Linked DNA regions of Homo sapiens: region 1 is linked to region 2. The links are contacts of gene promoters, found by promoter capture Hi-C in human tissues and cell types (Jung and others, 2019). All regions are on one chromosome and are shown on one strand. Each heading gives the region's core, a stretch centred on a gene start or on the middle of the fragment in contact. The rest is flanking DNA. Distances are from core to core; before and after follow the strand shown.

Region 1 (4,933 bases), core at 1,702-4,201, 120 kb before region 2:
AAACAAACAAAAATCCCTGCTCTCATGGAGCTTATTTTTTAGTTGGAGGTAAAGTGGCAATAAATAAATTTGTAAAATATATAGTATATTAGATGGTGATAGATGCCAAGAAGAAAACTAAATCAGAGAAGTAGACTAAGAAGTTCAGGGAATCACAAGATTATCATTTAAATAGGATGGACAGGGAAGGTGTTACAGAGGTGGCATATGAGCAAAGACCTGAAGGAAATGAAAGAGCTATGCAATACCCGGGGGTAGGGTGTGGGGTGAAGGGATGGGGATAGGGGAGGCATTCCAGACAGACGGCATAGCAAGTATAAAGTCCCTGAGATGGGAGCCTGCTACACATGTTCTGGATCAGCAAGGAAGGGAGTGGGGAATGTGGCAGGAGATAAGGTCAAAGAGGTACCTTCCCCTACCCTATAGAGTTAATCAAATAACCCATGGCATATTAAATTGGTCATTATGGAGCTCCATAAATCATAATTTGTAATTAAAATGCTTGAATGTCAGGAACCATAAACCATGACCAGCTCAAAACATCACTGGTAATGCCCCAATAGCAAAGCGTCCTTCCTGAAAATTGTGAGAGTGCCAACTGGCTGCATGTATACATGTACAGGAGGAGCTTTGCAGCGTTGCCAAACATTGCCTGGCAGCTAAACTTCTTAGTAGAAAACCGAATTAGAATCTTCTGTGAACTCCAGTTAAAAGCTAATTTTAGTTTATGACTAACAAATTTTAGTACCTCTTTATAACTCAGTTGGTTACCATAAAAAAAAAATCAAAGTCTGGAATTTTACATCATTCTCCTGTAAAAGCCAAAGAAAAGACTTTCATTTTGGATCATTTTGTGGTCTCTCAAGAGGCTCCTATGGTGCAATACTTTTAGAAATATTGATCTAGATTAGGGGTGACTAAGGTAGGAGTGAGTGGGCAGGGTTGGGCATAAGGCCAGAAGAGAGTCTTGGATGATTCAGAGATTTTGAGCCTGGTGATGGGGCCTGGTATCCACAGATGAAAAGATAGGAGGTGAACAGAATGTAGGGGAAGTTGATGTGTTTCTGTATGTCCAAAGTAAGATAGCTTCACTCCTGTGACCTCAGTGTCATTCTTACACATATATTCCTTAAGCCCTAGATATGATCTTTTACTCCCTTACCTCTTAAATATCTCTCAAATTAAACTACTTTTTTTCATATACACTGCCACCTCCCTAGCCCAGCTTACAATCGTCTCTCACCAAAGAGTGCTGTAAAAGCCTAGTAACTAGTCTTCCCTCATTCACTCGTGCCCTTTCCAGTCCATTCTCTACACTGCATGAAAAGTGATCTTTTCAAACTGTCAATCTGATTGTGCCATCCCCCACTCAGAACACTTCAGTGACTTCCCATTGCTCTTAGGATAGGGACCAGATTTTTAGACAATCGCTCCAGAGACCTGAATGGGCCTGAGACCTACCTGGGTCTCTATACCTTAATTTGTACCACTCTTCTCCATTATTGCTGTACCTTAGTTCTATGTGCTGCCCCCTTTCTGGAATGCTTTTCACACCCTCCCTCACACATGTACTCACTCCTAAGATTTCAGCCCCCAAATCAATCCCCACAACCTGCCCCCAATGCCCCCTGCCCCGTTATGGAAGGTAGGGTAAGTTTCCTCTGTTATATAGTCTCATTGCTCTGTGTTCCTTTCTTCCATAGCATGCATCACGGTTTGTAATTATTCACTTATTTGTGTAATTATTTGATTATTGTATGTCTCCCCCATTAGACTGTGAGCTCCTTGGGAGCAGGGCCTGTGGATGTTTTTGCTTATATCTGTATTCTCAGCCCCTAAAACAGTGGCCATGATGACGTCAGAAGCTCTTGATGAATGTTGAATGAGTGATCAACTGTGGTTGGGGAAGTAGCACAGGGTTCTATGGAAGCATGTGGTAGGGGGTCTTCATTCTGATTCTGGGGGAATTAGGGAAGACTTCTGGGGGGACCACCAGTATTTAAGGTTTGGATAGAAGAAGAAGAGTCCAAAATGGAGAATAAGAAGGAGTAATCAGAGAAGTAAGAAGACAACAAGGAAAAATAATATCCCAGAAGCCAAAGGAAGAATGTGTTTCAGTGAAACTGTATGGTCAGCCAAGTTGCATGTTGCTAAGGTGTCAATGAAGATAAACACTAAGATATAACTATTAGATTTAATAACTTGGAAGTTATTGGGGACCTTGGAAAGGACAATTTCAGAGTGAAAAGCTAAACTGAATTGAGCTAAGAAGGCAGTAAGAACTATGTAGGCAAAGATTGTTTTTTTAAGATGACAGACTTGAATATATTAAATGCTGAGGGGAAGGATCCTGAACGGAGAGAGAAGTTGAAGATAAAGGAGAAAGATTAAATAATGACTAGAGCCAAGTCTCTGAGGAGATGATGTTGTGGACAGGAGGAGGCACACTTTGTAACAGGACAGGAGAAGGGATGGATGCAGTTGATGATAATTTTGAGGTTTAGCAGCAGAAAGCTGAGACAGTTTTTTCTTCTTTTCCCCTAGTTGTGTTAATGGAATTCCTTCTGGAAGTGATAACTAGAAAACAATTTTTGCCAATGGCAGTTCCATTTTGTTATGATTATAGTCATGCTATTTTCAGAGTTATGGTCTGAGGTTTGTCATGCACAATTATCAGATTACAAAACAGCTGTGAGCATTTGAGGCCAGAATTTGTTTTCCTCCCCTGTGTACTAGGGGGCCTAGCACATTGTTAGCACTCAGTACATGCCAGGTACTCAAATAATAATGGCAGAGGGCTCCTGTGCTCGTTGCTGGGCTTTGCAGCCTGCAAGTTGATGCTGAGGAGTAATGTTGACTCTCTGGCTCCAGCTGTGAGCAAGCCACATGAAATTGTTTTCTGCCAGTTAGGAATTTGTATCAAGTGTTCAATCTTTGCAGTCACTGAGCACTGACAGAGTTGTATGCAAGAAGCAAGCAAAGGACACAGCTGTTGTAACTTTAGTTTCACTGGTTTGAGTCTCACAACGCTTTGTCCTACTCATAGAGTCACTGGATTCTGGTTTGTATGGTGGATTTATGTCCTCCATTTATCTCACCTCCTAGATTGAGAACCCTGGGTGTGAGAACCAACTCAATCTTGGTTCCTCTTTAGCCGTCATCCGAGGACCTGGCACATAGTAGATGCTTAATAAATGCTGAATGAATGAATAATGACTGAATGAGTTAGTTGATGAGTGAATAAATGAGTGATGGGAAGGTATGTACTGCACTACTCTGAACACTAACTTTTCTTTCTTGGCCTGCAGAAGAAGCAATTCATGCCTCCTTTATCCTAGTTAAAGCAGCCTAATCCTATTAATTATGTAGGGACCCTACCCCTAATGTTAAGCTTATTTTTCTACTTTTATTCTTACATCACATCCATTTGCTCATTTACTTATTTTCTCAATGTGTCATGTATTCAGCCTCAAATCTTATTTGGGAACAAACTGGAGTGTATATGGACAAAATAATCTGCTGCTCCTTGGAGAGTCATCTGCTTCTGTGCCTCTGTGTCTTTGTTAATTATTTTGTTCCCTCTGCATGGAATGCCCAAGTCTTCTCTTCTCTTTCTGCCCTTTACAGACCTGGCAAACTCTAAGACACATTACTTTAGTTAAGCTCTTTAAGTTACAAAGAACAGAGGCTCACTCAAGTTACCTCAGATAAAAGAGGATGAGAGAAGGGAGAAGGTATATATGTGGGGAGTTACAGATGGTTATTATAAGTACATAGATAACCTAGAATTGAAATTGGAAAACAATTAATTCTGAAACAGGTATAGGGACCAACTACTTTCTCCACATCTCTCACAGCCTCTCTATTTCTCTTAACAACTATGTTTCATTCTTATTCTTATTTCCCAACTGGCCAGATTTCCATGGTCTCCGCTCCCTCATAATTTTAGTCTGTTTCCAGCTTATCATAACTGTTCTGACCTCTCTACCTCACAAACATTTCCATGAATATCTCCATCCAACTGCTGGTTCTCCCTGTAGTCCTAGTTCAAATTCTTAAGGAGGGAATCTGATTGACCCTAGCTCATCTGTTCATGCTAGGCAATGTCAGCAAGGGACAAGATCCTATGGCTCTTTAAGCAACCAAAGCTAGAAGGAGGTATTCTCTTTGCTCAGCTCCTCCAGTGGAAGATATAACTCGCTTTACTCTAAAGTAACTTCCATATTGTTTCTGGTAAATCTCTTTCTCATGAATTGTGCGGGAAGGGGCCTCAGGGGCCTCAGATTTCTTCTAGTCCAATGCTTTCATTCAGGGCTGATATTTACATTACAAAAGGTCCTGTCCTTTACAAAAGCCTTTACTATAGGGTTTTAAAAATAGCACATTTCTGCAATGAATTTTAAAATACAGCACACAGGCCAGGCATGATGGCTCATGGCTGTAATCCTAGCACTTTGGGAGGCTGAGGCAGGAGGATCACTTGAGCCTAGGAGTTTGAGACCAGCCTGGACAACACAGCAAGACCCCATCTCTACACAAATACACACACACACACACACACACACACACACACACACACACACCACAAATTAGCCAGGTTGCATGCACCTGTAGTCCCAGCTACTCAGGAGGCTGAGGCGGGAGGATCCCTTGAGCCCAAGAGTTCAAGACTCCAGTGAGCTATGATTGTTACCACTGCACTCCAGCATGGGCAACAGAGTGAGAACCTGTCTCTAAAATAAATAAATAAATAAAATGCAGTATATATATAACCTTAAAGACCTTGATTTAGGGGATTTATATTCTGGCCATGGTGCAGAAATCTACACTGGACTTTCCCTCACACTGTAAACAGCAGTAAGCCTGGACACAATATATGACACTAATGTTTTTCGGTATTGGACAATAGACAACATAGGACAGTGATTCCTGA
Region 2 (4,375 bases), core at 879-3,378:
TGTGATCCCCAGCTTGGAAATGTGAATCTGACTATGAACCCCAGTGTCCTCAGCGAGTCCTTGAGTTCAAATGTGAGCCCCATGTTCCCCATGCGAGTCTGACTAACTCGGAGTCCCAGAATATAAGTGTGAATCGGAGTGAGCATGAGGGTCTTTGTGTGAGCCCCAGTGTGAGCCCTAGGACCCCAGTGAGATTCTGGGTGTGAGCTCTAGGTCTCAATGTAGATCTAAGCTAAAGGGTAAGACCGTGAATCTAAGCATGAGCCTACAGTCCCAGTGTGGGTCCCAGTGTGAGCAGAGTTCCAATGTGAGTCTATGTGGAAACTCCAGGACTGAAGTGTATCCCTGGATATGAGCCCCACAACGTAAGTGTCAGTCCATATGAATGTAAGCCCCTAGACCCTAGAAGGAGCTGAAGTGTCCCAGTGTGCATCTGAGTATGGATTCCAGAGCCCCCAGAAGTCCTGTGCATGAACTTTAAACTCCTAGTCTTTGTGTAGGCTCAGGGTCTCAGTTGGAGTATCAGCCCTGACAGTGTGAACCTTAGCTCTATCTCACCAATGCTGACCAGGAGCCCCTGGCACCAGCTGAGAGGATTTGTGTGGGTTGTGACAGTGGAGACAGAGAGGCATAGTTTGAGACACCTAGGCCCTTCTAGCCCCCAAGTCATTGCTAGCCCTACATCCCTGGGAATCTGCAATGGTTCAAGCCCCATTCCCACACGTGTAATGACACACCATCACACCCAGAGTTAGATACACAAAAATACACCTGGTGTTTCAGGCCCCTCGGACACACAGCAATTACAGATGCACAGACACACCCAGCATTTCACACTCGCACCACCTCAGTGACCACAGCCACACAAACACTCCCAGTGACACAGACACAAATTCACCAAGTATTACAGGCAGAACAACTAGTGTTAGAGACACACTCCTACAGCGGCATGCAGACACACACCCAATGTTGCAGACAAGCTGCCAGGCACACAGACACACACAGACGCTTCTCAAAAAGAGAGACTAGACGGAAAGAAAGAAAATCCTGAATTTTCAACAAGGCGTGAAATAGTCCTGCCCGCCTGAAGCTACTGGAGGGGGGAGGGGGACAAGGGAGCGAGCAAGCGAGCGAGCTAACGCTGGAGGAGAGGCTCGGGAGAGGAGAGGAGCCGAGAGGGAGAGCTGTCCGTCTGGTGACCTCCCCACGGCCCAGCCCCCACGCACGCGGAGATACACTACTCGGAGCAACACAGGGACACCCAGACTGGCTCACACTGAGCCGCACTGGAGGAGACACACACGAGCAGACTCACAAAGAGACACTTGGGGATACACCATAGGCAGACTCGCACAAGCCAGGAAGACTTACAAAGAGACACACTGGAGGAGACCCACTACATGGAGATACATCCAGGCGGACTGAAGAGAAAACCATGGGGACGCCGACCGACACACACATGCACACACACACGCGCGCGCGGGCGCGCGGATTCACACGGACACACATGCACTGGCAGACGCGCAACCGTCGGTTCGCATCCCCGGGCGCTTTGAAGTCCAGATTTCTGCCCGAGAAAGAAGCCACCTTTGGGCGCGCAAAGGCCACTACGAACCTCCCCAAACCCAGGAATTTTTCCAGACCCCGCGCGTGCAGCTGAGGGGTGGGGAGAACAGGGACACTAGGACAAACCGCCGGAGCCACCTCCCTCTAGTCCACAGTCGGCCCCACCACCACCACCACGCCCAACCCCCGGAGCGCCCGGACGTGGGGGGCCGCTCCTCCAGCGCCCCCGCCCCCGAGTTTGCAGGCAAAGTTTCTCGTGAACTTTCCTGTCGCCCCCGTCCGTGGGCCCACGGGTGTCCCCTCACTCTTCCCGCACGCATGAGGGCCGCCGGTCTGCTGGTCAGCCCGGGCTCTGAGGGTCCGGCCGCGCGCACTCCGCCGCAGGGTACTCACCGCGCCCTCGGGCCACCCGGGCTTCGCGCCGCGCCTTCCGACCGCCCCCGGCAGCGAGCGAGGCAGGGAGCGCGGAGCTAGCACCGCCCGCCGGATCCCACCGCCGAGCCTCGCGCCGCGCCGGCTGGAGCCGCCGCCTCCGCTGCCGCCGCCGCCGCCGCCCGCTCTGCACCGGCTCTTCAGCGCTCGGCGGCTTTAACCCCCCCATCCTCCTCCCTCCCTCGCGCGCTCCCTCCCTCCTTCTCTCGCCCATGTGACCGCGGGCGCCCGCTCGGCCGCGCGCGCCCTCGCTCCCCTCCCCCTCTTGCCTTGTCTCCCCGCGCCTCCGCGGCCGCGCGCCACGACCCCTCCCCGCCACGGGCCCCGCGCGCCCCCGCCTTGGCACGCTCTCGCTCCTGGCACACGCGGTCCGCTCGCCCTGCGCGGGCCTGTGAGCCCCCACTCCCACTCGCCCAGCACTGGCACGCGCTCTGCCCCCCCGCTGGCACACTCGTCCGCACTGGCACGCGTGGCCCCCTCGCGTTCACCCTTTCTCGGGCGCGCCCTCAAGACGGCTGTGGTCCCCGTGCTTCACGCGCAGCCCCGGCCGCGGGTCTCGCAAACGCGCGCGCGCACACACACACACACACACACCCACTCGGCCCGCTCCCCTAGGGCGGCTGGGCGCGCACTCACCCCCGGGATCGCTCCTTCACACTCACTCTCCCTCTCGGCCTTAGCCAGGTCTCTCCTGCGCACACTCCCGCACGTTCAGGCCCTGACGGCCTCGCACCGACTCCCTGGCACACCCCGGGCCAACTCTCGGGGTCCTCCCTCCGGCGTCGCCGTGAGAGGAACGCGAGCCAGAACCCCCAACCCCCACTTTGGGCAGAAGAAGCCAGCCGGCTCCGCCTCTCCCCTATTGCTACTGCCCCCCGCAACGACTCCCCTCCCGGTCACCCCCTCGCGCGGGGGAAAGGGGCTTCCTTGACCGGGGATGGACCCTGCCGGGAGCCCAGGCCCATGCCTCCAGTGTCTCCGATGACACCAACACCACTACTCGCATGTTCCTCGCGCCCCGAGGACACACAGCCGGGGGAGAAGCCTCCACTGGAATGAAGGGGTAGGGAGGGTGCACTCTCAATGCCGGGCACAGGCGCACCCCTCGATAGGAGGCTCACTCCCTTCGCAGCCTGGGCCTCTGAGGGGCCGGGGTGTTCACTGCACTCGTCCCTGGGCCTCCGGTCTGGCTGCAACATAGGAGAGTAAGGTTGGACAACCTGACCAACTTCTGAGGCCACGTGAAAGCGCAATGGAGTGGCAATGGCAGAGGCAGAGACCGAGAAAGCCACCCCCGTCTCCACCCCTTGGATTTGTCACCTGACCCTTGACCCATAATCCTGGGCCCTGCCCCTCCGGGGAGCTGCTCTAGGGCTGAGGGCGAGGAGAAGGGAGGGAAATGTCTCCATGTTTCCTCACATCCTTCCCCAGTAGGCTGCCTAGAGCGCCCGGGCCCTTTCCCAACAAATGCCTCAGGGACTCCCACTGCAGAGGAAAATCCTTCTTCCCGCCACGGCCTGGGCTTTTCACTTTCACTTCCGTGGCCACAGAATCCCCTTCCTACAACTGGCAGGGGTCGGCATGGGCTGGAGCTCAGAGACGGCCAGCTAGGACTTCAGGACACACAGCAAACTAGCTGCGCCCCGCTGAGGGTCAGCGCACAGCCGCCCACACAAGGTGTCCTCTCCCCGGGCTCTCTGGGCCGCCGGCCTCCTGCTTCCCGTGCCGCAGACCGGGATTAGACTGTGGACGCGGGGAAGGAAGGGGGCGTTGCGACGGGATCTTGAGGGGAGCAGGACTTGCCCCTGCCCCTGCGGCGAAGCTCTAGGCCCTGGCAAGGTTCGGTACACCGGGGGCCGCTCCTCCCCAGGGGGCTGACCGGCCTCGGCGCTCTAATCCGGCCGGGGAGGGGCGGACGGGGTGAAAATTGGCGAGTGGTTTGGGGAACGGACTTGACCTCCAGATGCCCTGGTGTCCCTGGCTCAGCCTCTTTCTGCCAGGTTGGGAGCAGTCGGGAATTCTGTCCCGGTCCAACGTCCCCCTCGGCCCCCGGGGACGCAGAGGCTGCTGTCGGCAGAGCAGCAGTCCACGGCTGCGGGGACAAGATCCGCACTGGGAGTCCGGGGTCCTGGAAGTGGACGTGTGGATGTCAGACGATAAAGGAAGGGAAGAGGCGCACGTCGGACCTCTGTCCAGGCGTCAGTCGGTCAGCAGCTCCTCCCGGCGCGGGACCCAGCGGCCTCGAGCGCTTCCCCGGGGCCGAAGCGACACCTGGCGGACGGTGCGGGACGTGCGTTCCCTTCTGGCTGCTGCTCCTGCTCCGCGCTGAGGCCTCGGCCACCTACTGAACACCGGGGGCTGCCACCTCTCCACACAG

Evidence for each region. Contacts are between HindIII fragments. The study calls those that stand out against the background at their distance.
Region 1: a contact is called between a fragment that was not itself captured here and the fragment with the promoter of CNTFR in region 2, in 2 of the 25 tissues and cell types used here (dorsolateral prefrontal cortex and mesenchymal stem cells).

What each region holds. Positions count from the first base shown.
Region 1 is chr9:34,462,900-34,467,832 of GRCh38, forward strand. All of the region lies in intron 1 of DNAI1 (dynein axonemal intermediate chain 1), which reads left to right. Among named protein-coding and RNA genes, the nearest start is that of DNAI1, 6.6 kb to the left of the region's middle. The HindIII fragment of the contact is 7,861 bases long and covers 1-4,933 here.
Region 2 is chr9:34,587,596-34,591,970 of GRCh38, forward strand. It overlaps CNTFR (ciliary neurotrophic factor receptor), which reads right to left and starts at 2,129. Exons shown (of 10, transcript NM_147164.3): 1 at 1,960-2,129. The HindIII fragment of the contact is 8,661 bases long and covers 1-3,210 here.